7 separate regions of the Homo sapiens genome follow, and all the other regions are linked to region 1. The links are contacts of gene promoters, found by promoter capture Hi-C in blood cells and fetal thymus (Javierre and others, 2016). All regions are on one chromosome and are shown on one strand. The core of a region is centred on a gene start or on the middle of the fragment in contact, and the rest is flanking DNA. Distances in the headings are between cores, read along the strand shown.

Region 1 (4,089 bases), core at 1,046-3,545:
AATTACAGATTAAATAGATGCACTGGAGGTGGGGGTATTATAAATGAAGCAAGATTGGCTATGTGTTCACAGCTGTTAAACAAAGCTGGTCATGTGGACATGAGAGTTCATTTACATGATTCTCTCTACATCTGTGTTTTAAATTTTCTATAATAAAAAGTTAAAAAAGAAAAGGAAGAAAGAATGGAAGGTAGGTAAGTCTGGATATGTTGATCATAGATTGATAAGTGAGTATAAATATAGCAGGTACACATGTAAGCACATCTCCAGTCATATGCTTACAAATATGTACAGGGGGTGGACTTATTGTTATGGGCTTATCTTTGCAGACCCACTGCTTGTTAATTGGGTGGGGTAGCTCTACACCCCTTTATTTCCTCATAACTCTGGGAAAAGAGGCCCATTTATTTTGCCAGGTGCTACTCTACATGGGCAGAGCGTCAAAGGAACTCAAAGAAAAGCAAAATCAAGAGATAAAAAACAAAATTCCCTATGATATTCTTTGAAACACTCGATCCAGCCACTCGATCCAAGCTTACCCCAGTATTATGAGGCAACCAATTATTTTGTTTATGCCAGTTTGAGTTGGGTTTCTATCACTTGAACAAAGGGTCCTAACTAATACAACACATTTATATCCATTAGTCATCATAATGAACCTCTAGTGTGTGCCCTAAAAGTAGCAGACATTGTACTGGGTACTCAGGATATAGAGATGATAATTATGGTATAGTTCCTGCTCTCATTGGAGTTTACATTCTTGAGCGAGGGCACGCTTGTAAACAACACCAGGATAATAGGTAAATGTTAAAATAAAATGTGTCATGTGGTTTATAAAAGACCTAAGACACAGCAGAGGAACCCTCAGGTAACTCTGCTTAGAAAGGAGGGAGAGCTTCAAAGAAGAGATGATGCTTGATCTGAGATTTAGATAATAAGTAGTAAGTTTGCCAGAAGGACAATAGTGGAGAAGAATATTGTTTAGAAGAAACAGCAAAAGAATGGTAACAATGGTACGGGAGAGTTTGTAGTGTTTTCGCCAGGTGGAGAGGAGGGAGGAATAGCTGCGTGCGAGGGAAAGCGGAGCACGGCAGGAGGTAGTTATTGTACAATATTGCAACTTATTTCACCTTCTTTGATAGGCTCTGCATTCCATGTGGGTAGGACCCTGTTTGTAACTAATCTCTCCTGGTCTCAGTTTCTTCCTGACTCTGATACATTCTCCACACCGCTGCCTATTATCTTCTCAAAACAAGTATGCCATGCCTCAATCCTGCTTTTAAAGTCTTCAAGGACTCTGATCATCAGTAGGGCACACAAGACTATTCACGACTGACCTAGGCGTATCTGACCACACTCGAGTCTACCATTCCACGACTCACACCAGTCCTTCCAGCCACACCAAACTACTTGCCGTTTCCAGAAAATTCCAAACAAAGAAAGTCCAAGCTAAGAAAACCCTCATTCCCATTCATCTTTGAAAGAACTAGTTCAAGTGTTCTATATAGTATTCGCTAGCTTTGCTTCTTCCCACCCCCCACCAAAGAAGCCGCCCTCTTCTGGTTTCCGTGGCAACTTACACATTCTTCTACCATAACACATAGAAAACTAAAATGGGTTCCTGTGTCTACTTCCCCCAGTGGAAAAATCAGACCCTCGGGGGCAAGAAGCCAAGCCCAGGACTTAGCCCAGTGCCTCGAAGGCTCAGTCCACACTCCAGACAACCTCTTCCTCCTCCACCTAAGCGGTATGCCCACACTCGCTGCGCCAAGCACACCCTAACTGCCTTCATCAAGATTTAACCGATTACACACCAAGCAATAGTTCCTATGTTCCTCTCACGAGTAAACACAATAAAGGCACAAAAGCTATGGGTATTGTATGTGCAGCTCGAATCACACACACACACGCCCCACACACACACTCCCAAAGGCAATTAATGACCGCAAGCACCGTCCACCGGACTGGCCAACACAAAATACGGGAGAAGGGCTGCCAAGGCTCAAACGAATTCCCGTCACAAAAACTTTTCTAGCCAAGGCCGGTTAATAAAATAGCCCAGTCGCGGGCACCAGCAGCCCAGAAGCTCGAGCTCTAGCCAATCTCTGCCCTGGACTGCGCAGAGAAGGGAAAGTAGGGAGACAAGCTCGGGGGCCCCGGCGACAGGTGAGTGGGGCTCAAGCCTCACCACGCGGCCGTTCTTCGGTGTACAAGTCGATGACGACGTCGCCTAAAGTGGTCTCCAGTAGAACCGCCATGGCGCCCGCTCCTCCTCCGCTACAAACCCCGGGAGGAGGGGGGTGACAGGCGCAGGCCGACGGCGTCGTCTACGCCACGCGTCACCCTCGGCGCGACCCCTTTTGCGTCATCTCGCCGGCGCCGCCCCCGGTTCCGAGCAGTTCCTTCCGGTCGGCGTGCGGGCGCCGGGCTGCCCAGCTGACTTACGGATCGGGTTGGTCCCGCCCCCGGCGCGGCCGTTTTGAAAATCCTGGTCCGCCCTTGGCGATTTTGGTGGAAGCCTGTCCCTCAGAACGGTCTCAGTATAGTGTTTTGTGCCCCGTTTGTGTCCGTCTCAAGAGCAGAGCGGCCCTCCGCGCGGCCCTTTTATCCACCAGGGGGCGCCCGCGGCGGGATCTTCTCTCCACCTATTTGGGCGGACTCCTCCGGGTTTCCTCGTCAGTCTCCTTTTCGCAAAACAACTTTGGGCCTCTACTAGGGGTTTCCGATTCTAAGAACTAACATTTTGTTTTGTTTTCTGTTTTGAGACAGGGTCTCGCTCTGTTGCCCAGGCTGGAGTGCAGTGGCGCGATGTCGGCTCACTGCAACCTCCACCTCCCGGGCTCCAGCGATTTTCCTGTCTCAGCCTCCCAAGTGACCACAGGCGCGCGCCACCACGCCCGGCTAATTTTGTTCTTTTATTTTTTGTAGAGATGGCGGTCGGGGGAGGTGGTCTCACTATGTTGCTCAGACTGGTCTCAAACTCCTGAGCTCAAGGAGTTCGAACTCTTCCCGCCTTGGCCTCCCGAAGTGCTGAGATTACTGGCGTGAGCCACTGCGCCTGGCCAAAACTAACATTTTGCCATGCAAGTTTATTCCCCAGACACTCTTCTGGGCAAGCCTGTCACTCTTTCTTATGACATTTTACACATAATCTCCAATAACTTCACATCTGACGAAAAGCCAAAGCTTTTTTTTTTTTTTTTTTTTTTGAGACGGAGTCTCGCTCTGTCGCCCAGTCTAGAGTGCAGTGGCGCGATCTCGGCTCACTGCAAGCTCCGCCTCCCGGGTTCACCCCATTCTCCTGCCTCCGCCTCCCGAGTTGCTGGGGCTACAGGTGTCCGCCATCACGCCCGGCTAATTTTTTGTGTTTTTAGTAGAGACCGGGTTTCACCGTGTTAGCCAGGATGGTCTCGACCTCCTGACCTCGTGGATCCGCCCGCCTCCGCCTCCCAAAGTGCTGGGATTACAGGCTTGAGCCACCGCACCTGGCGGAAAAGCCAGAGCTTTTATAATGATTTACAAGATCCTCTCCTACCCCATCCTACGCCATCTTCTTATTCCTCTGAAGCCACAGTAGACAGTTTGCTATTCCCTGAACACTGCTGACATACTCCTGCCCCATGGCCTTTTCACTTGCCTTGGTTGAGGGACCTCTTCCTCCAGTTATTTGTATGGCTCCCATTCACCTCCTTCAGGCGCTTTGGCGTCGGTCACCCTGTCAGTGAGGCCCTCCATGGCTGCCATAATTAAAATTAACCCCACAGACACTTCTTTTTCTCCATATAGCTTTTTCTCCAGAGTACATTTTACAATCTAACATGCTATTTACGAATTTGTTTGTTTGTTTATTGTTACTAGAATGTGTGTTCCAGGATATTCCATCTTGTCTGTTTTGTTTAAAGCTATATCCCTAATGCGTATGACAGCCTGGTACACAATGTGCAAATAAATGTTTGTTGAATGAATAAATATGGTTTTTCGGTTTGGGTTTTTTTTTTTTTTTTTGAGACGGAGTCTCGATCTGTTGCCCAGGCTTGAGTGCAGTGGTGCGATTTCAGGTCACTACAACCTCCGCCTCCTGGGTTCAAG
Region 2 (4,089 bases), core at 870-3,369, 490 kb before region 1:
ACTCAGCAGCCAAGAAAAGTCTCATTTAATAGTCATTGCGATCTCAATTTCACAGCCATATCGATGGAGAAACATCTGTGCTCAAGAGGAGAGAATTCCACAACAGCTTACAGCCACACACTGGTCATCCCTGTGAAAGATGCAGCTGACCAGACATGATGTAGAAAGTCAGGCAGGCCCTCTGAACCCCATGGGCGCCTCTGCCAAGTGGTGGCGAGCATTCTGGAAAAAGTGGAAAGGCCAATACAGAGAAGTGACGGGCCTGCAAATGGTCCTGATTTTTCTAACACCAATTCAGGGGCATCATTGGGTCTTTTGACCCAAGATCTTAAGTGGATCCTCTGTGCATTTCATTACTTAGTTAAATAGCATGTCATTCCGTAAGAAAGCAAACCTGAATTGGTTTTGCCTAAACTACATAGCCCAGGAAATTGAGCAGAGGATTGAATGGCACAGTTCCTGATCTCAGCAGGCTATGGTTTCCCCTTTGTATCTCCACTTTGTATCTGACTGCATTTTCTCTTTGCCCTAAACCATCCAGCTATTGCAGTGGCGATGGGGGGGTGTCTGACAAAACTTTACTTTTCTTCCTTTTTTATTAAAGTGTTTCAGATGCTGCAGTCATGAATGATTTTTGAATGTTTATTATTTACCTAATACAGGCAAGAAGATATAGTAGAAGATAAAAAATGAATAGAAAAGAGATAGTACTACCCAAATGGAACTCTATTAGGGAGGGGAAAATATGTGAAACATCCAAAATATATTTTTGACATTTTTACAGAATTAAATAATTATAGATTATACGGTATTCATGATCAAGAAGTGCTTTGGAATTTTATGCACCTAATGAATGTATAGGTGGGGAAAGTTGATCTATAAATGCACATGTATACTGTAAGGGATATGAATCTTTACTTTCACTGAACCACCAGACCTTAAAATTTTATAGGAGCAGAGCATCTCAAAGTCTTGATGTCTGTAATTTCATAAAGTATCATTAACACATTAAGTTTCAACTAAATTGAAATTAATTGTTTCATTTGGGGAGATTAGCATTTTTCTATTTCAGTGGCAGAATACTGATGTTTCAAGGGAATATATTTTGAGGATAACAGTCATAATATTAATAGTTGTTGTTATTATATTTAACACTCATTGGGAGCTTCTTGTGTCTCAGGAATCTTGTTAAGTCCTTTAGATGTACTATTTCATTTAATCCTAAGAACAACCCTGTGAGGAAGATACTATTATTATGTCCATTGTACAGATAAGGAAACCACCAACTTAGAGATGATTCATAACGCTTCTATGTTACTGAGCTGGTCGCTAGCAGCACTCAAGTGATTGAACATTCAACCCAGGCCCAGGTGACTTGCAACCCCGTGCTCGTAAGCTCTTAACTGGTCTCTCTCTCTCTCTCTCTCTCTGAAAAGGGCAAAATCTAAAACATGATTATCTGAGGGAGATGGGGTAGCTAGAAAAGTAGGATTCTATGAAATGTTATTCTGCTGAATTCTCAAGAACACAGTGTTTCTGGAAAGCTTAGTGGTTCTGTTGAGGTGATGTTCATTGATATTCTAAATGTGTTACTTTGTTTTATTTTTTTGTTGGTGGGGGAAGACTTTACTAGTTGGAATTACTAAAATCGCTTTAATAAAGTGCTTGCAAAGACTCAATCTGGTTAACAGTAAAGCCATTTGTTTCAGTCATGTCAGCAACTTTGGTTTTCATAAGGGTTTTAATGAATCGGAGAGTGGAATTTAAGAAAGCAAACAATCCAAGGAATACTCCTTATTTTTCTAAAATAGCAAAGCAAAAATGGGAACCCTTTCCAGTTTAGTTACAGCAAGTATCTATTGGAGTTTTAGAAATTCTTAGAGTACATCATTTATCATATAGAACAAAACTTGATTAATGAACACTTTTTAAAAGTCTTTTTAGGGTCCTATTATTATTTTAGTTGTTTAGATATAAAAATATTTTATGACATATTCACTGTTAAATTTATAGTGAATTGACATTCAGTGACATTTGTTTTTAAAGTTGTTTATTGAAATATGTAGTCTACCAGAAATAAGTACGGTTACCAACTACTGAAATCAATTTAATAGTAATTTGGTCTTGTTAGTCTGTTAAAAAGAATTATTGGCCTTCAGATATTTCCACAAAGCCCTTTGTTACTCATGAATCCCATCAAGATGCTATGAATAAAGACTGTGAATATCAATAAGTTTGAAAACATTCCATGCTCATGTTCAGGGTCATATTTTTCCCTGTCTTCTATGTTCCTCTTTGTGGCTATAAACCCAAACTTATGTGTTGTGTGTTTTTTCTATGACAATTATGGATATGACTTATTTACTATATGCTCTATGAGGTATAACCTAATGTCAACTGACTTCAACTATGTTTGCCATACTTCCAAAAAAATAGCCACTCATGTATCTGTCTGATCAGGAGGTGAACCGATGGTGCTGTATGAAATTGAGAACTAATTATCTCATAAACATTCTAAGTGGATATAAGGAATTATGTGCTCAGTTGCAACCACTAATTTATCGAAGCACCGGGTCTAAATACCTCAGGGAATGCACAGAAGCCTGATGGTTGAAAAGCCTTCAAAGCATTCTCTCAGCTAAAAAGTACAAGAATTGGGGCTCATATCTAGTGCCTTTTTGGACAGTTGGTCACAGAAGCTTAGAAACATTGGCACAAGTATTGTCAGGTGGAGCCTGGCCGTGACCTCTGTGAAATGGCTGTCATGAGCTTGGCAGGGTGGGAATAATGGCTCTCCTGCCACCATCTGTCACCCCTGTCCAAGACACCAGCACAATTTGAGAGCAGCTGTGGTTCCCTACCCTATTCTCACCCCATCCCCCCATGCCCAGCAGCTCCCTCCCTGGGACTTTGGACCTCGTGGGAAAAAAATGGAGAAGGAGGGAAAGAAAAGTACTTGAGGGTTTTGTAAATGTTCAGAAAGGGAGGGGGGTGCGGTAGAATTAAATCTACCCAAAGAAGAGCCAAAGAGCTTTCACTTGCTTTCCCTTCTAGCCAACCAGTAACCAGTAGGCCTTCATTTTATTGTCACATGTAAAACTCAAGAAGTGATGAGTAAGTAGCATTCAATTAGAATTTAATCTTTTTTGGTAGAAATGGTGTAAAAGTTTTCAATGAGGATATGCTGATTCCTGGTTGCATGTTCCACAGCCTTTGATGTTCAACCACATCATCTTGCACTTATAGCTAAAAGGTGTCAGACACCTAACATTGTCTTAGCAATCTTCTGTGGTTCCAGATACTGTGTGCATCTTACAGGCTGGAGTTGGGGGACACCGATGCTTAATGGGAAAACTAATGACTTTATACAGATCTTATAAAACTCTGCTATTGTCGGGGGGCAGGCATTTAGTAGATTAAGTTTGTAATCTAAGAGAGGAAACTGGGCAGGAAAGACAAGAGTGAGGTGAAGCACCACCGTGGACCAGAAAAAGGCTTGAAATTAGAAGCCTTTGGCAAAAGTGTGAAACTTTGCCACTTTACATTGTTCAGTGGGTCAGAAATTGTCAAAGATTTTCTTTTTTCTCCAAAGAGAAATGACGAGGAAGGAGAGACATTTTTTATTTGTTCTGGGTGTTTGTTTATTGTTTGTTTTGGACAAGGTCTCACTCTGTTGCCCAGACTGGAGTACAGTGGTGCAGTCACAGCTCACTGCAGCCTAGACCTCCCCGGCTCAAGCAATCTGAAAGAGAGACATTTCAAAATTGAACCTAAGACTCATGGTTTATCGCATGAGAACCCACAGCTCTCACAGAAACTCAAGAAATGTCTTAGTGAGGGGACTCAATCCTTTACACTTCGAGCTGAAAGGACGGCAGTCAGCCCAGCCAGGAGGTTACCTCAGCATAGACCAAGTAAATAAATCATTTGGTAGAAGCCATTTGAGAGTAAAGGTTACTAGAAAGTCATAAATCAACCAGCAAGTCGATGTATGGTTTTGCTAGAATGTAGGAGCAATTAGAAATTTTTAGAAATATTTCTTTAACTGTGCGTGACTTGAGGAAGAGGACTATGACCTAACTAACCAGT
Region 3 (4,089 bases), core at 776-3,275, 480 kb before region 1:
AAACAACACAGCAAAAGCACAGCAGCTGATTGTCATGAGGAGCCTCCTACCTCTGCCACTTTCTGGCTGCATGACCTTGAATGAGTTATAGCCTTGGCCTCAGTTTCCTCATGTATAAAATGGCTCTTCCATCAAGGGGTTATTGTGAGGATTAAGTATGATTGTGTGTACAAGTGCTTAGCTCAGTGCTTGCTACACATTAGTTCCCATTAACTGTAGCTGTTACTATAAAAATATACCACAAAGCATTAGGCTCAGCCAGGACTGTCACCATCTCGCACCATATCAGTTAACTAATCGTGCAAATATGTCCTGGTTCTTTTCACTTGTACTTGAAGGACACAATATCACATTTTATTGATGTATAATATTTTACATATTTATGGGATATGTATGATATTTTTTTCCATGCATAGAATGTGCAATGATCAAATCAGGGTGTTTAGGGTATCCATCACCTTGAGTATTTATCATTTCTATGTGTTAGGAACATTTGAATTTTTTTTTCTAGCTACTTTGAAACATACAATACATTGTTGCTAACTATAGTCACCCTACTCTGCTATGGAGCATGAGAACTTACATCTTCTATATAACTGTACATTTGTACCCATTAACCAACCTCTCTTCAGCCCGCTCTCCAACCCAGACATCCTTCCCAGCCTCTGGTATGTATCATCCTACTCCCTCCTTGTGGTCAACTTCTTTAGCTCCCATATATGAGTGAAAATACACGATCTTTGTCTTTCTGTGCCTAGATTATTTCATTTAACATGATGACCTCCAGTTCCATCCATGTTGATGCAAATGACATGATTTCTTTCTTTTTTATGGCCAAATAGTATTCCATTGTGTATAATACCACATTTTCTTCATTCATTCATTGATGGACACAGGTTGATTCCATATCTTTACCACTGCGAATATTACTACAGTAAACACGTGAGCATGCAAGTGCAGGTATCCCTTTGATATGTTGATTTCATTTCCTTTGGATAGATACATAGTAGAAGGGTTGCTGGATCATGGTAGTTCTATTTTTAGTTTTTTGAGAACTCTCCATACTGTTTACCATAGTGGCTGTTCTAATTGGCATTCCCACCAACAGTGTATAAGAGTTCCCTTTTCTCCACATCCTCACCAGCATCTGTTATTTATTGGCTTTTAATAATAGCTATTCTAACTGGAGTAAGATGATAGCTCATTGTGGTTTTGATTTGCATTTCCTTGATGATTAGCATGTTGAGTTTTTTCATATACCTCTTGGCCATTTGTATGTCTTATTTTGAGAAATGTCTATTCGGAAGGATATAATGTCACTTTTGACAGAGTTATTTACCTGCTCTGCCCATCCACCAACTCCCCCATCCTAACCATAGAGGAAGGCATTCAGGGAAGAGAGTTTTATTGTCATGAACTAGGAGTAACCTTATGGCAGTTGACCCAGTCACCTAATCGTAATCAAAGAAAGAAATGTATAAACCCATTATGCTGTAACTTTAAAGAATATTCCCAAAGTTTTTCTGGCCTGAAATTAATAACCATTTATATAGCAAATCAACTCAATCCATTATATAGACCAACATTTTGCAAGTGATTGAAGACTAGTAAAATGTGATTGGTATTTCTCAGATAGTTTTGTAGTCAAGGTATTTATATGATTACACTTGCTGTCCATTGTTTTTAGGAAATTACTGTTTCAACCTTACGACAAAGAGCTTTGAGGCTGTGAAATAGAACAGATTTCCAAATTACTTCTTTACAAGGATCTAGGCTCCCTTTTGCTTATCCCCTTGGATCCTTTGCCAGGTTGGGCCAAATAATTTAAGTAATGAATTTATTTTAAATCACAGGAGTCTTACTTTTTTGTGTATCAGATAACAAAACCCTACACAATGTATAGTGCTCTAAGAGGAAGGGATTGAAGGAGGCTTTCAATGAGAGAATTATTTTTCCTCTGCCTCTCAATGTTTGACTTAAAACTCTTTATTTCTTGTCTGTCTTTCATAAGATTTTTTAGCTCTGTTTTAAAAAACAAAAAGGAACACCTAAGACCTGTGAACAATGACCCGCCCCAGATTAGCTAGAGTTCATATCTTCAGAGAAGACAGATATTATAAAATGTTCTGTTAGGAACCCATTTCAGAAGAGTCTATGCCAAGTTATTTAACAGAAATTCTAGAGTGTTCAATGTGTGTTATGTTTTTAATTTCAATGAAGACCATGTTATCTATTTACAAGGATCTAGGCTCCCCTGTGCAAAGGACCCAACCTGGCAAAGGACTTTCAAAAGAGTCAGTTTGAAAAGTAATACCCTTATTCAATGAGGCTGTTGGCCACATAGAGAATTTATTTATTTTTTATTTTAATTAATACCTAATGGGGTACATGAGATGTTTTGATACAGGCATGCAATGCATAATAATCTCATCATGGAGAATGGGGTATCCATCCCCTCAAGCATTTATCCTTTGCATTACAAACAATCCAGTTATGCTCTTTTAGTTATTTTATTATTATTATTATTAATTTTAGACAGAGTCTCGCTCTGTCGCCAGGCTGGAGTGCAGTGGCGCAATCTCAGCTCACTGCAACCTCTGCCTCCCGGGTTCAAGCAATTCTCCTGCCTCAGGCTCCCGAGTAGCTGGGACTACAGGTGCATGCCACCACGCCCAGCTAATTTGTGTATTTTTAGTAGAGACAGGGTTTCACCATGTTGGCCTGGATGGTCTCGATCTCTTGGCCTCGTGATCCACCTGCCTCGTCCTCCCAAAGTGCTGGGATTACAGGCATGAGCCACCATACCCGGCTCTTTTAGTTATTTTTAAATGTACAATTAAATTATTATTGGCTATAGTCACCCTGTTGTGCTATCAAATAATAGGTCTTATTCATTTTTCAATTTTTTTTGTACCTATGAACCATCCCCACCTGTCCCCAATCCCCCACTACCCTTCTTAGCCTCTACATAGAGAATTTTTCAAATTCCTTCTTTAGAATTGCTACTGAAGGCTTCAGAAGGTACCTCAAATATCCTAAAAATTGGGAAGTCTATGTCCTTTCAGATGAGTCTGATTTTGGAAATAGCCATTTGGAACTGTATTTAGTAAATTATATACCTATTCAAATTTGTTGACAAAAATTTTAGTCAAAAGCAAGATTATAAAAGAAAATGTGAGGGCAAATCTTCATGACCTTGGATTTGGCAATGGCTTCTTTAATATGACACCAAAAGACAGGCAATAAGAAGAAAACAGATAAAATGGTCTCCATTACAATTAAAAACTTCTATATGTCAACCTTGGATTTGGCAATTTTTTTTAATGTGACACCAAAAGTCAGGCAATATGAGAAAAATGGATAAAATAGTCTTCATTAAAATTAAAAACTTTTATGCATCAAAGAACACTATCAACAGAGTGAAAAGACAGCCTGTGGAATGGAAGAAAATATTTGTAAATTATATACCTGATATATGTGCAGATTATCTAAAATATGTAAATAACTCCTTCAACTCAACAATAAAAACAAACAAAAGCAAACAAAAAAAAACCCCACTTCAAAAATGGGCAAAGGACTTGAATAGACATTTCTCTAAAGAAGATATACAAACAAACAGCATTTGTTGGACACATGCTTGTCAAAAAGCACATGAAAAGGTCATTAGAAATTAGGGAAACCATTAGCATCAGCATCACTACAGGAGTCATTAGGGAAATGCAAATCAAAACCACAGTGAGATACCACTCCACACTTACTGGGATGGCTACAATTTTAAAAAGGGAGGAAAATAACAATCGTAGGAGAGAATTCGAAGAAATTGGAACCTTCACACATTGCTGGTAGGAATGTAAAATGGTGCAAACACTGTGGAAAATAATTTGGCAGTTCTTCAAAACATTAAACTTAGAATTACCGCATGACCCAGCAATTCTGCTCCTAGGCATATACCCAAAATAAGTGGAAACAGGGACTCAGATACTAGAATGCAAATGTTCATTATAATAAGCAAAAGATGGAAACAACCCAAGTGTCTCTCCAAGGATGAAAGGATAAACAAATTGCGTTCTATCTATACAATGGAATGTT
Region 4 (4,089 bases), core at 857-3,356, 460 kb before region 1:
ACACAAAGCCAATCACTTTTTGTGTCAAGTAATATTGGTGATTTTCTGTACTCCATAATTGGGGTTATAAATATAATCCAAGTTATATTATATGACTACTTATACTTTTGTTAATTGTATGTACTTGTTGGTTTCGGGTGCCAGAAATAATCCAACTCTAACAAGTTCAGACAAAAAGAAAATCTACTGGAAGAGCAGAAGGGTATCTATAAAATCAGAAAAAGAATTGAAAAAGCAAAAATGCAAGCAGGACAAGGGTGCAATCGGGCTCAAGGGCAACTGGAACCAGGGACTGAAATGCTACCTGGTGTTTCTCCCTCTCTCTCCCACCCTTCTCTCTTTTTCTCTTTTCCAGACCAGCAGAAAATGTGCCCCCTTTCCCTTACCAAAAAATAAAAAGCTTCCAAACCTCACTCTCACAGCTTCTGTCACCACAGAGGAGCTGGCTTCTTGCTAGTTACAGTTCAGAAAAGTCTTGGGGAAAGACAATGATTGGTTTAGCTAGTCAGGGCCCCCCATCCTTGAACCAATCAGAAGGCCAGGAGGAATGTTCCCATGGTATAAATCACTAGATCTCAGAGACTGGTAAATACAGTAGTCCTCGTGGATAAGGAAGATATGTTCCAAGACCCCCAGTCGTTGCCTGGACTCAAGAATAGTACCAAACCGTGTATATGCTTATGTGTTTTTCTATACATACATACCTATGAAAAAAGTTTAATTTTTATTAATAAATTAGGCACTATCAGAGATTAACAATAACTCATAATAAAATGGAACACTTATAACAAAATACTGTAATAAAAGTAAGTGAATGTGCTTCCCCCTCCCCCAACCCACTACCACCCACCCCCAGGCCAAATAACTTAATATTTTTGGACCGAGGTTAACTGAGGGTAACTTAAACTTCAATAAGTGAAACAGAGAATACGGGAGACTACTGTGAACAAAGCCGCCACCCAAAAGAGGTTCCACTACAGGGTCTTTTTAGATTTGCTGTCTGTCGCCCAGGCTGGAGTGCAGTGGCGCCATCTTGGCTCACTGCAACCTCTGCCTCCCAGGTTCAAGTGATTCTCCTGCCTCAGACTCCTGAGTAGCTGGGATTACAGGCACACACCACCATGCCCAGCTAATTTTTGTATTTTAAATAGAGATGGAGTTTCACCATGTTGGCCAGGCTGGTCTCGAACTCCTGACCTCATGATCTGCCCGCCTCGGCCTCCCAAAATGCTGGGATTACAGGCATGAGCCACCACGCCCAGCCTAGATTTGCTTTTGAAAGCTCTGCCCAGTATTTCTATAGCCTGTCACAAGGCACAGCGACACTTGTTAACAATAAAATAGTGAAAAAATTTTCAAACAAGACTTAGAGAAGAAAATTAAGATCACCCACAATCTCATCACCCAAATATAAGCACTATTTACATTTTAGTGCATATCCTTCCAGTCTGTTCCATGTGCGTATATCCTTTTCTATACATATAATATCATTGAGATCATGTTAAATATAAAACTCTACATACCACCATTCACTTAATATGTAAAAAGAATACTCAATAACATTTTATACTTATAAATCTCTATATCAGGGAAGCTGTGACATCAGAATATCTGTGAACTTCTTGAATTTGTGTAGAGAATCATAAAGGTATAAGCATATTGGTATGTACTTCTTTTGGGAAGGGGGTCCATATTTTCATCAGATTCTCAAAATGGTCTGTTACCAAAGAAAAAGGTTAAACACTACAGCATTTAAGTTTTCAAAGCACTTTCACATAAATTACAATACATTCACAGCTGCTACATATTTAATATTTTACTTTTAACTGATCTCAGGTGACATTTAAAGGTTCATTGACACAAGGCAAACCGTACCTTGCAAATACATGCACTTGAACCACAAATGCTCAAGCCAGACCCTTAGCTTGTGGGTGAGCCGTCCCGTTCCCCAGCCTCCCATCACAGGAAAGCTCCCTTAACCTCACATCATGCCTCACTCTTGTGAAATGGTTAAAACAGCTTACAAAGGCGTGGATAGAGCTGACCCAACCAGTTTAGCCCAGAGCTGTTCCACTGCCTCAATCACTAGGGCTCCTGGACAGAGCTTGATTTTAGGGCAAGACTATTCAGATCATTTAAACCCAAAATTGGATCTCTCAGGCAAATTATTGATTCACCTATATAAATTAAACTAAGTCAGCTATTATTCGAGTCTCGCTTCCATAATGAATTGTACACAACTTCAGTGGACTCCACCCTTCAGAGCCCTCCTTGAGTCTGTTCTGGTTACATTTATTTAACGGTGACAAAGTTTCCTTTCCACTTTGTGCAGCATAGCTCTCTTCTCTCCACTTCACAGAAGTCACGTTCTCTGTCCCTCGGCACACGCTTGTATCTTAATCTTTATTTTTCCAACTCAGTTGTGGAATTCCACCAGGAAAACCCTTTCTTGCTCAAGAAGAACTGCGGGTACAATTTCAGCTCACCTTGGGTCTGTGTTGCCCCAGGGAGCCCAGGCTGAGGGTGAACAAGCTGCAGCTGCCACTTGAACAGCGCTTTCTCAGGTCTTGAGCCGCTTTGCGTCATCTCTGTTGCTTCAGTGCCTCCAGAAGCCCCTTGGTGCTCCCCCCAAGGGTAGCGCTCACCACGCTACATTGTAAATGCTCATTTAACCATTGTCTCACCCCCCAGACCACACCCTCTGTGAGGGCAACACCTTGTCTTGTTCACTGCAGTGTCCACGGCACTTAAATGCAGCACTCAGAATGAAGGAGTGAACAAATGAGCCAATGGGTGAGTGGCTGAATGAATGCAGTGAACTAATTCTTTTTCACTGAGCAAAGGAAGGCGGAGAACTTGGAGTGAGAAACAGGAGGGCAGAGTAAACAGGAGAGATAGAGAAAGAAAGTGACAGAGACTTGCCACCTCTGGGAAACCAACACTAGTGGCCCAACATGACCAGAATCCCCCTGGTCAGCTTCTAAGGAACGCTCTATGGGTGTTTTATGTAAACATTTCACATGGCTCACGCCTGTAATCCCAGCACTTTGGGAGACCAAGGCGAGAGGATCACCTGAGGTCAAGAGTTCGAGACCAGCCTGGCCAACGTGGTGAAACCTCATCTCTACTAAAAAATACAAAAATAATTAGCTGAGTGTGGTGGTGTGCCCCTGTAGTCCCAGCTACTCTGGGAGGCTGAGGCAGGAGAATCACTTAACCCAGTAGGCGGAGGTTGCAGTGAGCCGAGATCGCGCCATTGCACTCCAGCCTGGGCGACAGAGGGCGACTCCGTCTCAAAAAAACATTTAAAAAATCTAAAAAATAATAATAAGTGAAGAGGGAAAATCATTCAATATAAGAATCCCCCTCTAAAGGAGCCAAGCAGGTAGGTCTAATAATTCAGACTGTTCCTCTGCTCCATGGTGTGTGGAATGATTTACTGCATCCATAAAGGAAATTGCAGGACTTAGAGCTGAGAGACACTCCGGAGGCCCTGAAACTGGTATGGCGCAGACACAGAGCTGTGTCTGAAGATGTGGCTCCCGGGACTGGAGGGTCTGCAGCTGCCCTGAGCCCACAGGTGACGGTGTTCAAAAGAGGAGCGGCATCAGCAGTGGCTCTGTCCCACGGCTGATTAACGCAACGGAATGTACAGTCAGCAAGGGGGTGCTGCCTGTCAGGCTGTGGACTTACTGTCTGTCCCAGACTGGCTTTGTTCAAGTTTAAGGGCATTGTAATATTTAATATGGCCTGTAGCAATTTCATACCATTTGTAAAAATCATGAGACTATTTAATATAGAAAAAATATGTTCAAGCTTCCACCTAGAAAAATAACTGTGTATAGAACAGAATAAAAATGAGTTCAGAAGAATATTAGCTGATTAACACATTCTATTGAGTTAAGAAACTAGAACCCAGATATACGGGCACAACCAGGAAGGAAAGTGGGAATCTTAAAGGAAGAAGAAGCTTCAGATTAGAGAAGAGATGACCTTTGACTAAGAAGTCCCTAGTAGTCGTACTTAAAGCTTATCACCAAACTCGAACCAATTGTACAGTGTCAGTTAGTAAATCCTAAATCGAATGAT
Region 5 (4,089 bases), core at 491-2,990, 420 kb before region 1:
AACAGGACTTCACCCCATAGGATAGTAGCAACACCACCCATCAACTGCAGAATGCACATTCTTTACATGTGCCTACAGAACATATACCAAGATAGAACATACCCTGGGTCATAAACACACACACACACTCCCAATAAATTTAAAATAGTTGAAATCATACAGAGTATGTCCTCTGATCACAAAAGAATCAAACTAGAAATCAGTAACAGAAAGATAAGAAAATCTCCAGAGACTTGGAAACTAAAGAAGAGTGAACTATTATGTCTTCTTGATGCATTGACATTTTGATCATTATATAATGTCTTTATCTGTGTCTGGTAATTTTCTTTGCTTGAAAATCCACTTTCTCTTTCTCTTTTTATTTCCAACTTGCCTATATCCTTATACTAAAGCAAGTTTCTTGTACATAGGATAGATTTTGGTGATTTTTTTAAATCCACGTTGCCAATCTCTGCCTTTTGATTGGTGTATTAATACCATTTACAAGCGTTGAACACTTTCCACCTAAGATTAGGGACAAGGCAAGAATATCCACATGCACTACTCTAATTCAACATAGCGCTCCAAGTGCTAGACAGAGCAATAAGTGAAGAAAAAGAAAAAGAAATAAAAGGCATACAGATTGGAAAAAAAGAAACAAAACTGTTCCTATTTGCAGATGGTAAGACTGTCTACATAGGAAATCCCAAGAATATACAAAAAAACTTCTAGAGTAAATAAATGAGTTCAGCAAGTTCACAAGACACAAAATTAACATACAAAAACCAATTATATTTCTATATATTAGAAATGAACACATGGGGACTAAAAGTAAAAATATAATGTAAATTAAAACCACCATAAGGTATCATTTCACACCTGTTAGGATGACTATTATCAAAAAGGAAAGCGATAACAAATGTTGGTGAGGGTCTGGAGAAAAGGGAACCCTTGTCCACAGTTGGTGGGAATATAGATTGTACAGCCATTATGGAAAACACTACAGACATACTTCATTTTGTAATGTTTTGCAGATTCTACTTTTTTTTCTTTTTTACAAATTGAATGTTTATGGCAACTCTGTGTCAAGCAAGTCTATCAACACAATTTTTCCAAAGCATGTACTCACTTCCTGTCTCTGTGTCCCATTTTGGCAATTCTCACGATATTTTCAAACTTTTTCATTATTATTATATGTGTTATGGTGATCTCATCAAGGATCTTTTATGTTGCCACAGTAATTTTTTAGGGCGCCATAAACCATGCCCTGATAAGATGACAAATTTAATCAATAAATGTGTGTGTTCTGACTGCTCCACCAGCTGGCTGTTTCTCCATCTCTCTCCTTCAAGCCTCCATATTCCCTGAGATACAATATATTTAAATTAGGCCAGTTAATAACCCTACAATGGCCTCTAAGTGTTCAAGTGAAGGGAAGAGTCTCTCATCTTTCACTTTAAATCAAAAGCTAGAAATGATTAAGCTTAGTGAGGAAGGCATGTTGAAAGCCAAAACAGACCAAAAGCTAGGGCTCTTGCACCAAACAGTTAGCCAAATTGTTAATGCAAGGGAAAATTTCTTGAAGGATATTTAAAAGTGGTACTCAGTGAATACACAAATGATAAAAAAGCAAAAAAGCCTCATTGTTGATATGGAAAAGGTGCTAGTGGTCTGGATAGAAGATCAAACCAACCACAACATTCTCTTAAGCCAAAGCCTTATCCAGAACAAGGCCCTAACTCTCTTCAATTCTCTGAAGGCTGAGAGAGATGAGGAAGTTGTAGAAGAAAAGTTGGAAGCTAGCTGAGGTTGGCTTATGAAGTTTAAAGAAAGAAACCATCTCCGTAACATAAAAATACAATATGAAACTGCAAGTGCTGATATAGAAGCTGTACCAAGATATCTAGAAGATCTAGCTAATTGATGAACATGGCTACACAAAACAACAGGTTTTCGGTGTAGACAAAACAACATTAAGTTGGAAAAAGATACCTTCTAGGACTTTCATTTCTAAAGAAGAGAAGTCAATGCCTGGCTTTAAAGCTTCAAAGGACAGGCTGACTTTCTTGTTAAGGGCTAATGCAGCTGGTGACTTTAAGTTGAAGCCAATGCTCATTGACCATTCTGAAAATCCTAGGGCCCTTAAGAATTATGCTAAATCTACTCTCCCTGTGTTCTATAAGTGGAAAAACAAAGCCTGGATGACAGCACATCTGTTTATAGCATGGTTTGCTGAGTATTTCAAGCCCACTGTTGAGATCTACTGCCCAGATAAAAAATATTCCCTCCAAAAGATTATTGCTCATTGACAATGCACTTGGTCATGAAGACCTCTGATGGAGATGTACAAGGAGATGAATGCCTGCTAACACAAGATCCATTCTGCAGCCCATGGATCAAGGAGTAATTTAGCCTTTCAAGTTCTGTTATTTAAGCATACATTTTGTAACACTATAGCTGCCATAGATCGTTATTCCCCTGATGGATCTGGGCAAAGCAAATTGTAAGGCTTCTGGAAAGGATTCACCATTCTAGATGCCATTGAGAACATTCATGATTGAAGAGAGGAGGTCAAAATATCAACATTCACAGGAGTTTGGAAGAATTGATTCCAGCCCTCATGGATGTCTTTGAAGGGTCCAAGACTTTATTTGAGGACGTAACCGCAGATGTGGTGGAAATAGCAAGAGAACTAGAATTAAAAGTGGAGCCTGAAGATGGGACTGAATTGCCAAAATCTCATGATAAAAATTGAATTGATGAGGAGTTTGCTTTTTAAGGATGGGCAACTAAAATGGTTTCTTTAGATGAAATCTAAGCCTGCTGAAGATGCTGTGAACATTGTTGAGATGACAACAAAGGATTTAGAAGATTACATAAACCCAGTTGATAAAGCAGCAGCAAGATTTGAGAGGATTGACTCCAATTTTGAAACAAATTCTACTACAGGTAAAAATCCTATCAAACAGCATTGCACACTACAGAGAAATCCGTCATGAAAGGAAGAGTTTATTGATGTGGCAAATTCATTGTTGTTGTATTTTTAGAAATGGCCATAGCCTCCCCAATTTTCAGCAACCACCACTCTGATTAGTCAATAGTCAACATCAAGGCAAGACCCTCCACCAGCAAAAAGATCATGACTCACTGAAGGTTCAGATAATCATTGGCATGTTTTAGTAATAAAATATTTTTTAATTAAAGTATGTACATTGTGTTTTTAGACAAAATGCTATTACACACCTAATAGACTACAGTGCAATATAAACATAACTTTTATTTTTAATGGAGAACAAAAAAAAGGTGTGACTCACTTTATTGCAATATTTGCTTCATTGTGGTGGTCTGGAACTCAACCCACAATATCTCCAAGGTATGCCTGTGTGGGGGTTCCTAAAGACATTAAAAATTAAAACTACTGCATGGCCTAGAAGTTCCACTTTTCTGGTATATACCCGAAGGAGATAAAATCACTACCTCATAAAAATATCTGCTCCAATGTTCACTGCAGCATCATTCACAATAGCCAAGATATGAAAACAACCCAAGTCTCTGTCAATAAATGAATGGATAAAGAAAAAAAGAAAATGTAGTGTTGCTGTATGTATCCACACACACACACAATGGAATATTATTCAGCCTTAAAAAAGGAGATCCTACCATTTGCCACAACATGAATGGACCTAAAGGATATCATGCTGAGATAAACCAGACACAGAAAGAAAAATGTTGGATGATCCCACTTATATGTGGAATCCTTTTTAAAAAATGTCTAAATATACAGAGATATAGAATAAAACAGTGGTTACTAGAGTGAGGGACAGGGGAAGGGAGGAAATGGAGAGATGGGGTCAAGTCACAAAGTAGCAGATACATAGGATGAACAGGACGAGAGATCTAATGTACGGGAGAACTATAGTTAATAAAATCATATGGTATTGAGAATTTTTGTTAAATAAGTAGATTGTAGCTGCTCTTGTTATCTATAGTAACACAACTATGTTACCATAGATAGTAAAATATTTGCTATAGTAAAACAAATTTACGTATTTATCATCTCACAGATGATGATTTTACTATCTATATCTGTCTCATAACATCATGTTGTAA
Region 6 (4,089 bases), core at 483-2,982, 390 kb before region 1:
TTATTACAACTCTGTTCCCACTGGGATAGCAGAAAGAGCTAATGTTATTGTTTTAAGTATACTGAAGCCAGATTTTTTGGGGTTATTTTTTGTTAGTACAAGCCAGTAAGACCAACTAGCTCATTTTTTTTTATCCTCCAGAACAATTGGGAGGTGTTTGGGTTTTTTGTTTTTGCTTTTTAAAATCTCAACTGACTCATTTGGTGGGAACAAATTCACATGTCAGCATGTGGTCTGACCAATATGACCTATCTACAGGGAAAAAAACAACATTTTCAAATTAAGGTACATTCAGCAATTATACATTCTTGTTTTAAAAAATATATACTGACCAGCACCTAGCCATATAACAAAGAGCATGTGCCTGAGATTGCCACAGTGGGAAGATTGATCAACATCAGTCCCATTGTTTGAGTCAGGATAACTTGCTCACATTTCAGTCAGCTTGAGTAAAAGAGAACTTATTGCAAGATGAGAGGAGTGTTTCATGAAACTTGAAGAATATACACAGGAAGTCGAATCTTTGGTAACTAAACCCTTGCTCTGTCTATTTTTCTCTCCCTTCCCTATCCTACCCCAATGTCTCTCTGCTTCCCTCTGTCCCTTTGCTCCCTCCTCTGGCTTCCTTTGCAGATTGCCTCTGGCTCTCTCTGCTTCATCACCAGTCCTCATGGCCCAAAAAGGCTGCTGCAGCTTAGTCTTCTAGAAGAAGTCACCTTCATGGAATACAGTCTCGTAGCCTCTTAAGTCAAACTTTTGTGATTTCTATCTGAGTGCTTTGGGTAGAGTCAGATATCCCTGATCTACCTGTTATAAAAATAAAATGCCCAGCCCCATTGTTCAGGAAAGCTTATGCAGACACCTGTCTAAGGATGGAGGTTGACCTTTTCAGGCACCCCAAAAGTATTTGTCACATTTCTTGGATATACATTTGAATCCCTTAGCAAATTCCACCATATTCCTTCTGGCAGACAGTGAGGTGAGAGACAAATTATCCATGTCAGTGAACCTATATATCATGTTTGGTTTTATATGGCAGCACCCAGTAGAGATGGGACTGATAATACTGAGGTTCAAGGGATAATGCTTATCTTTGAAAGAAAAGTAGATGGAGGGGGGTAATTATTATAATAATTTTCAATGTATTAGTAGAAGCATCATTTATTTTTAACAAGAAACTTACTAGCTAAAACATGCACAGAATCCTTTGACTTAGGAATTCCACTTCTCAGAATGCATACTAAGGAAACAATCATAACAGTATTGATATGGTTTGGCTATGTCCCCACCCAAATCTCTAATTGTAGCTCTCATAATTCCCATGTGTCATGGGTGGGACCCCATGGGACGTAATTGAATCATGAGAGTGGGTCTTTCTTGTGCTGTTCTCCTGATAGTAAATAAGTCTCACAAGATCTGATGGGTCTATAAAGGGGAGTTTCCCTGCACATGCTCTCTTGTCTTCTCCCATGTAAGACATCCCTTTGCTCTTCCTTCGTCTTCGGCCGTGATCGTGAGGCCTCCCCAGCCTTGTGGAAATGTGAGTCCATTAAACCTCTTTCTTTTATAAATTACCCAGTCTCGGGTATGTCTTTATCAGCAGTGTGAAAACAGACTAATACAAGTACATAAAACATTATAAAGAGATATTCATTATAGACATGTATTAATATAAATGAAAAGAAGTTGCATATCTATTAATAGGAATTCCAATGATGAATTTATGTTCTATGCATGGGGTTGGCTATTGTGCACCCTTTAAAAATTATCTTTTTGAAGAGTATTTACTCACATAGGAAAATGTGTATAATATGCTAAGGGAAAAAAACAAAATCATATGCATCCTCCTAATTGTATTTTAAATTATTTACCTATAATGCATTTAAAGAAGATAAGAAGGCAATATATCAAAATGTTAACTGCGATTATTTCTGAATGGTGAGGGATGGGTAACTTTTATTTTCTTTTTTATTATTGGCTTATTTTCCAAATTATCTAAGATGGATGCATATTGTTTTTATAATTAGTTTCTTCAGCCTTTCACCTCACAACAGTGAATGCAATAAAATGAACATTCAAGAAGAAAAGAGAGAAGAAAAGATTACTGAACTACCATGATGACCAGAGTTGACTTTTATTTTTCAGCTCATCTTTTGTTGTTGTGGGAAGGGCCCACAGAAGCCAACAGTTTTGGTGGAACTCCGATCGGACAGTAGATGCTTCTTATTCCTTGTTATGAACTACAAATGCCCCGACCTCGTGTTTATGATCGCCAACAGTCACTTGTGCATTTCTGTCTCCACTAATGCATGGTGTGGCTAATTGGGTTTGTGAAAAAGGTCACTTCCATCTTTTTTTTTTTTAATGAATGGTTTAGTTTATTATTACAGTGGAGTGTTGACAAGCATGGCAGAGACTAAAAATATAGTTCCTTTTCAAAATAAAATATTCAGCATTTTGACTGGCTGCAGATTTATTTGGCAGTAATTTCTTGGTTAAAATTCCCTGAGGTTTCTTTATATGGCTATTTTGGTTCTTTATTTTAAGTATATCAGCATTTTTCCACAGCTTCAAGCTATTCTCATCTCAGCATGTAGGAAGTTAATAGGCAGCACAGAAGCTTGTTACTCCAATTCCAGTAAAAACATAATTGGCTCAAGCAGCTAAGATACCAGCACCATCCTTTCTGCTACCTTGAAGGACCAGCAAGAATGGCCACAAACTCAAACTCATCACAACAATCAGGCCCATTCCAGGCAGTGCCCATGAATATGGAATAAGGACCAGCAAAAATGGCCACAAACTCAAACTCATCACAACAATCAGGCCCATTCCAGGCAGTGCCCATGAATATGGAATAAGGACCGCTTGGAATTTTGTTTTTTAGTCTCAAAACTTTGTAAGATTTTTTAACGATATGCATAATAGGAATGCAATTCCATTTAAGGTGGATGCCCACCTAGATACACAACATATTCCAGTGGTACCACCATTCTTCGAAACATCTGTGAAATTTCTGTTTTGGAATCGCTTTCAGATATAGTTTATGGAGAAATACATCAGAAAATTAGTCTCGTTCATTTCTAATCACATATGAATCAGATTAAAAAGTTAGATTACTCAACTTATTTACCAGACTGGGCACCAGATGCCTTTTGCATTTTCTAAATAGCAGATTCTCTCGCAAAACCAAAGTTTGCCACCAATAAATCTTTCAAACCACATGCCTTGGTCTAGGATAGGAATTCCAATAAGATAATTCCAAAAGGGATTAGATTAATGGTAGAATCATTGGAATAAGTGTACAGTCTTCCAATCTAACAACTCTGAACTGGGCATTTGGATCCGTAAGATCAGGCACACTTAAAAAAAAAAAAATTAAGTGAGTTCCAGGCTCTGTTACAGGGGCTGCAGCAGCACATATATATCAGGTTTAGCCTTTGCCCTTTGACAATATCAGTCTTAAGAGCACTGACTTGAAGAAGTGATCTAAAATAGTATCTTAGAGTTATGCTAATTTGAACTACCCCAGTCAGAAAGATATGGAAAAGTGAGAAAGAAGGAAAATGTTTTAAAGGCCTTTTCTTTGTCTTTCTCTCTCTCTTTTTTTTTTTTTTTTTTTTTTTTTCTCATTTGCAGGACATTGAAACAAAGCAGGGAAGTGCATTTGCATTCAGCTAAATTTAATTTGCATGCCTAGATAACCTCTGGGAATTTGGGAGGCTACCTTAGCTGGAATGTGCAATTGTAGCTACCTATTTACGTCACAGTGTTTGTTATGAAATAAAGGACTAAAACCTTAAAATGCGGTTCAATTTAAATATCTTGATCACCATCAGTAGCAGCAGCAACAATTCTCTCACAGATTTCATCCTTGAGGAAAAGGCAGGAAGTCAGTTAAACTTAATTCGGCTTCCATCGACAAATATAATTTGGACATCAGGAATGGTGCCATGCAAAGACGCACACTCTCGTTCAACTCCTTCAGCTCAAGGAACTCATCCAAGTCACCTCAAGCATTAGGGTCTTACTGTGACTATAACAGGAATGCATACTCTTCCAGCCCCTAATGTTATCAAACCAAACTGG
Region 7 (4,089 bases), core at 836-3,335, 370 kb before region 1:
AAACACTTCCATAGCTGTGATCCAGTGACAGCAAGTGGGATGCTGTTGAGCTGCTGAGGCTGAATTACCCCTATCCATTTCATATCCAGAAACATTAGAGGGCTCAGCTAACTGCGCTAATTTGAAATATACCAGGGAGACCCAATCTGTGAAAAGGTGAGAAAGATTTTTATTTTATTGCCAGAGTTGAAACCAGACCTGAGTGGTACTTAAAATTTCAGTTACATGAGGAGACGGGTTTCTTTACACTTGATGAGGGCTCTTACAGCTCTGAGTTGGAATAGGTTCAGCAAAGGAGATCCATGAGCCATATGTTGGTGGCCTCTACTCATTATGAAAAATGCATGCTTCTGCAGCTTAAAAGCAAACAAACAAGCTTAAATCCCCACTCTCCTGGTTTTCATATGTGGGGACAGTGCCGCAGTGAGTGTCCTGAGAACAAACACTACAAGCCTCTCTCAACCAGCAAGCAGTGCCATATACAATTGCAAGAGTTGCCTGTAAGGATGTTGAGAATTTCTCTAGGTTTCCTGTTCCCAACCTGGTGAGTCCTTCATCCTAGAAGAACCAAGGACAGCCTCTTTGCTCTGTTTGGAGAAGCCTCAAGAAGTCTCAGTGGCCAGCAGTCAAGTTTCAAATGCCACCATTGCAGATGGGGGCCTTGGGGTTAGAGCACCACTCCTGGACACAAACACACATTTATGTCCAACCCTGGACCAGGAGAAATCGCAGAACCAGCATCCCAGGCCTGACCCTCACAAGGCCTGGCCTGGAGCCTGCCTCGGACAGAGGACCCAAGCCACTCTGAATCTCTCCACAGCCATGTCTCTTAGTCAGCCCGGCTGCTATAATGAAATGCCAGACGCTGGGTGATTTAAACAACAGATACTTGTTTTTGCATCATTTAGAGGCCATAAGTCTGAGATAAAAGTGCCAGCAGATTCAGTTCTTCATGAGGGCACTCCTCCTGGCTTACAGATGGATGGCCACCTTCCTGACATGTCCCAATATGGTCTAGAGAAAGAGAAAGGAAGAAAGAACAAGAGTACATGCTTTGATCTCTCTAACTCTTCTTATAAGTGCTCTAATCAATCCCTTCTTAGGGCCTTCCCCTCCTGACCTCATCTAAACCTAAAGACTCCACTTCCAAAGGCCATCATATCGGGGGTTAGGGCTTCAATATATGAATTTTGGAGGGAAACATTCAGTCCATAACAGCATGTGAACTAAGTAACATGATGAGAATGGGTCAGTTCACAGTGGACCATAAAGCTGAAGGGTCGTGAGGCAGAATCGGGCCTGGAAAAGCCAAGTCCAGAACAAGCTGCACTTGAGCCGGGGACAGGAGACAGGGAGCAGAACTGAAATCAATGAATAGAGATTGGAAGCCACTTTTGCTGTGAGGCAAGAAAAAAGCCGTACTCCAAATCAGGTTAAGGGAAGAGCATAAGAATACATTTCCACAACTGTGACTGCTGAAGTCCCCAGGACCTCCTGAAATCAGTAATCTCCTTCCAGCTCCAGCACGCACGAGGACAGACTCTGCTAGGCTCCTGCCCTAGGATGTTAACGACTTATTTTTTAGGTGTGTATTCCTATCACAGGCTTCCCTTTCCCTGAGTTTGTCTGACTCAAGGCTGACTATTACAGTCACAGGGGGCAAGTAACATCTCAAAGGCCATCCCCAGCTGAGCAAGCTGAGGTCAGATCCCTAGAGAAAGGGGCTGTTATGGGTTCAATTGTGTTCCCCAAAAAGGTATGTTGCATCTTAACCCTTGGAACCTATGAATGTGACCTTATTTGGAAATAGGATCTTTGCAGATATTTTTAAGATGTAAATTAAGATGATGTCATATTGGCCTAAGGAGGGCCTTTTATGCAATATGACTAGTGTCCTTACAAAAGAGAAGAGATAGAAGCACAGAGACACATAGGGAGAAAGTCATGTGAAGATGGAGGCAGACAGGGGAGTGATGCAGCTGTAAGCCAAGGAACACTAAGGATTGCTGCAACCCCAGAAGCCAAAAGAAAGCCAGGGAACACTTTCTCCCCTAGACCCTTCAGAGAGAGCATGGCCCTGCTGACACCTTGATTTCAGACTTCCGGCCAGAAAGAATAAAGATATGTTGTTTTAAGCCACCCAGTTTTTGGTAATTTCTTACAACATTCCTAGGAAACTAGCACGGGGACTTAGGTGTTTTTAGAGAGTGAATTCAGAAGAACCCCGGAACTCCTGGATTTGGCCAAAGAGGATGGACGTGAACAAGAGCTATAGCTGGAGACTTTGCATGTAGGGGTCTTGTGAAGATGCTCTCTGCCTGCCTGGGGCAGGGGAGGCAGGAGGAAAAGAGAAGGTAGAGGTTCCTATGCAATAACTCTCCATTGAAGTTGTTGCCTCTCCCTCTACCAGTGATCACTGAAGTTCCAGGATGTCCAGTGAGTAAATACTGACTACAATCAAAGAACAAGAAGGAGGAAGGAAAGGAGGTGATGTGAGGCAGGGAGAAGCCTTTGCTCCAAGTATATAAAAAGACTGCTTATGATTGATTTATTCAACCAAGATTTCGTGAATGCCTATAATGAGCTATGTCTTATACTAAGCACAGAGATTGCAAGGTTGAAAAGATGCGGTCCTTCCCCTTCAGCAGGTCACCATCTGGGTAAGGTGATGGGTAAGTCTGTCTAGCAAATGTATTATAATAGAGCAAACGCAAGTGCAGCCCTTGCAGCTACAAGGGGCTTCTCTTTGGGTGCTGAAGTTTGCAGGGTAGACTCTATGGAAGGGAAAAGTAAGCTGAGTCCTAAGGGAGCTGTGGAAGTTGGCCTGACAGATTGCTCAGTTGGAGGGTAGGACATTGAAACTACACCATGGAAAGGAAGGCAACAAAGACTGCAGCCCATGGAAAAGCCTGGAACCTCATACAAACAACATCTCAGATTCTGTCTCTGAGCTTCCTCAAAGTCCTCACTTTGCTGAAAGGTGCTTTGATAATCATGCTTTTTGTGTGTTCGGACTCGGTAAAGGGCCCTTCTGCACAGGCCATCCCCCTGAAGTTACTAATCAGTGATTTGGTTTTATAAAATTTCGCACGTCTTTCTTAGATTTCATCACTCCATGGAAAGGAGCCCCACTTTCCAATGCTCTTACTAGGCACTTAAACAGTAGTTGCCTAGCCAGCTTTTACCTGTTCACAATTTCTTCCTTTTCATGCATGCTGAAATGGAGATTCTGACGCTGCCTTGGACTGGTTCTGATAAATGTTCCCATATAAGAGTTTTCAAACATGGAAAAGCTCTTTAGAGACTACTCTAAAATAATATTACATCAGAAGCAAGTTCTTCTCTCCAGATTGCTATAGGTCAATTTTGAGAGGCTAGAATTTTTTTAAATGCCTTTTGTGTGGCAGCGATAACAAATCTGTACTACCCTGTCACTCTCTGTCCCCATCCTGTCACCCAGGCCAGGGTTATCTCCAGCAGTGTCCCAAGGGAAGGTTTGAGAGCCCCTGCTCTCCTTGGCAGCATACTCTGATATTTTGTGCCTTTCCTGTATCTGGTTAGGTATATTTATGAATCATAGTACCTGAGTTTAACCAAATAAACCACCTCAAAATAGACAAGCAACTTGAAAACACTGAAGACAATGAATAATGCAACATCGAGTCAACACCAAAAGGATAGCAGAGCTGCCACTTCCACACATTACTTGAACTCTTCATCAGCTAAAAACCAATCATCCACAGTAAGAAAGATACAAATATTAATAATATTTTTGTAGGAGGATTATAATGGAATAAGCTTGGGTTGGTTTTTCAACAATATTTTAATGTTAAAATGAACCATATTCATATTTGAGTATATTTATCAAGCAAATTTAGAGAATTCTCTGCTCAACAATTCATAGATCTGTTTTCTATTGTTGCTATAACAAATTATCACCAACTAAGTGGCTTAGAACAATACAAATGTATTGTCTTATTGTTCTGGAGGTCAGAAAGCATAGAATCAAGGTGTCCGCAGGTTGTATTCCTTGTGCAGTTTCTAGGGAAAATATTATTCCACTGCCTTTTCTGTTTCTAGAGGTCGCCA

The links. Contacts are between HindIII fragments. The CHiCAGO score rates a contact against its expected background, and 5 or more counts as called.
Region 2: a contact is called between a fragment that was not itself captured here and the fragment with the promoter of PPIL4 in region 1, in 15 of 17 cell types (non-activated CD4 T cells, naive CD4 T cells, activated CD4 T cells and 12 more). The highest score is 23.5, in non-activated CD4 T cells.
Region 3: a fragment that was not itself captured here is called in contact with the fragment with the promoter of PPIL4 in region 1 in 12 of 17 cell types (naive CD4 T cells, non-activated CD4 T cells, total CD4 T cells and 9 more); the score reaches 32.7 in naive CD4 T cells.
Region 4: a contact is called between a fragment that was not itself captured here and the fragment with the promoter of PPIL4 in region 1, in 7 of 17 cell types (non-activated CD4 T cells, naive CD4 T cells, activated CD4 T cells and 4 more). The highest score is 14.4, in non-activated CD4 T cells.
Region 5: a contact is called between a fragment that was not itself captured here and the fragment with the promoter of PPIL4 in region 1, in 6 of 17 cell types (naive CD4 T cells, non-activated CD4 T cells, total CD4 T cells and 3 more). The highest score is 9.7, in naive CD4 T cells.
Region 6: a contact is called between a fragment that was not itself captured here and the fragment with the promoter of PPIL4 in region 1, in 3 of 17 cell types (naive CD4 T cells, naive CD8 T cells and total CD4 T cells). The highest score is 7.8, in naive CD4 T cells.
Region 7: a fragment that was not itself captured here is called in contact with the fragment with the promoter of PPIL4 in region 1 in 1 of 17 cell types (activated CD4 T cells); the score reaches 5.4 in activated CD4 T cells.

Annotation. Positions count from the first base shown.
Region 1 is chr6:149,543,748-149,547,836 of GRCh38, forward strand. PPIL4 (peptidylprolyl isomerase like 4) reads right to left here and starts at 2,296. Exons shown (of 13, transcript NM_139126.4): 1 at 2,189-2,296. The coding sequence starts at 2,258. RefSeq lists enhancers at 2,186-2,485, 3,189-3,865. The HindIII fragment of the contact is 2,652 bases long and covers 533-3,184 here.
Region 2 is chr6:149,051,186-149,055,274 of GRCh38, forward strand. The region is part of intron 7 of UST (uronyl 2-sulfotransferase); the gene reads left to right. Among named protein-coding and RNA genes, the nearest start is that of UST-AS2, 21 kb to the left of the region's middle. RefSeq lists an enhancer at 3,230-3,349. The HindIII fragment of the contact is 1,155 bases long and covers 1,543-2,697 here.
Region 3 is chr6:149,068,255-149,072,343 of GRCh38, forward strand. All of the region lies in intron 7 of UST (uronyl 2-sulfotransferase), which reads left to right. Among named protein-coding and RNA genes, the nearest start is that of UST-AS2, 38 kb to the left of the region's middle. The HindIII fragment of the contact is 7,123 bases long and covers 1-4,089 here.
Region 4 is chr6:149,086,060-149,090,148 of GRCh38, forward strand. No RefSeq gene overlaps it. Among named protein-coding and RNA genes, the nearest start is that of UST-AS2, 55 kb to the left of the region's middle. The HindIII fragment of the contact is 3,416 bases long and covers 399-3,814 here.
Region 5 is chr6:149,121,875-149,125,963 of GRCh38, forward strand. No RefSeq gene overlaps it. Among named protein-coding and RNA genes, the nearest start is that of UST-AS2, 91 kb to the left of the region's middle. The HindIII fragment of the contact is 560 bases long and covers 1,461-2,020 here.
Region 6 is chr6:149,154,141-149,158,229 of GRCh38, forward strand. It overlaps LOC124901426 (a long non-coding RNA gene), which reads left to right. Exons shown (of 2, transcript XR_007059807.1): 2 at 2,146-2,466. Among named protein-coding and RNA genes, the nearest start is that of TAB2-AS1, 100 kb to the right of the region's middle. The HindIII fragment of the contact is 1,771 bases long and covers 848-2,618 here.
Region 7 is chr6:149,171,551-149,175,639 of GRCh38, forward strand. No RefSeq gene overlaps it. Among named protein-coding and RNA genes, the nearest start is that of TAB2-AS1, 84 kb to the right of the region's middle. The HindIII fragment of the contact is 3,422 bases long and covers 375-3,796 here.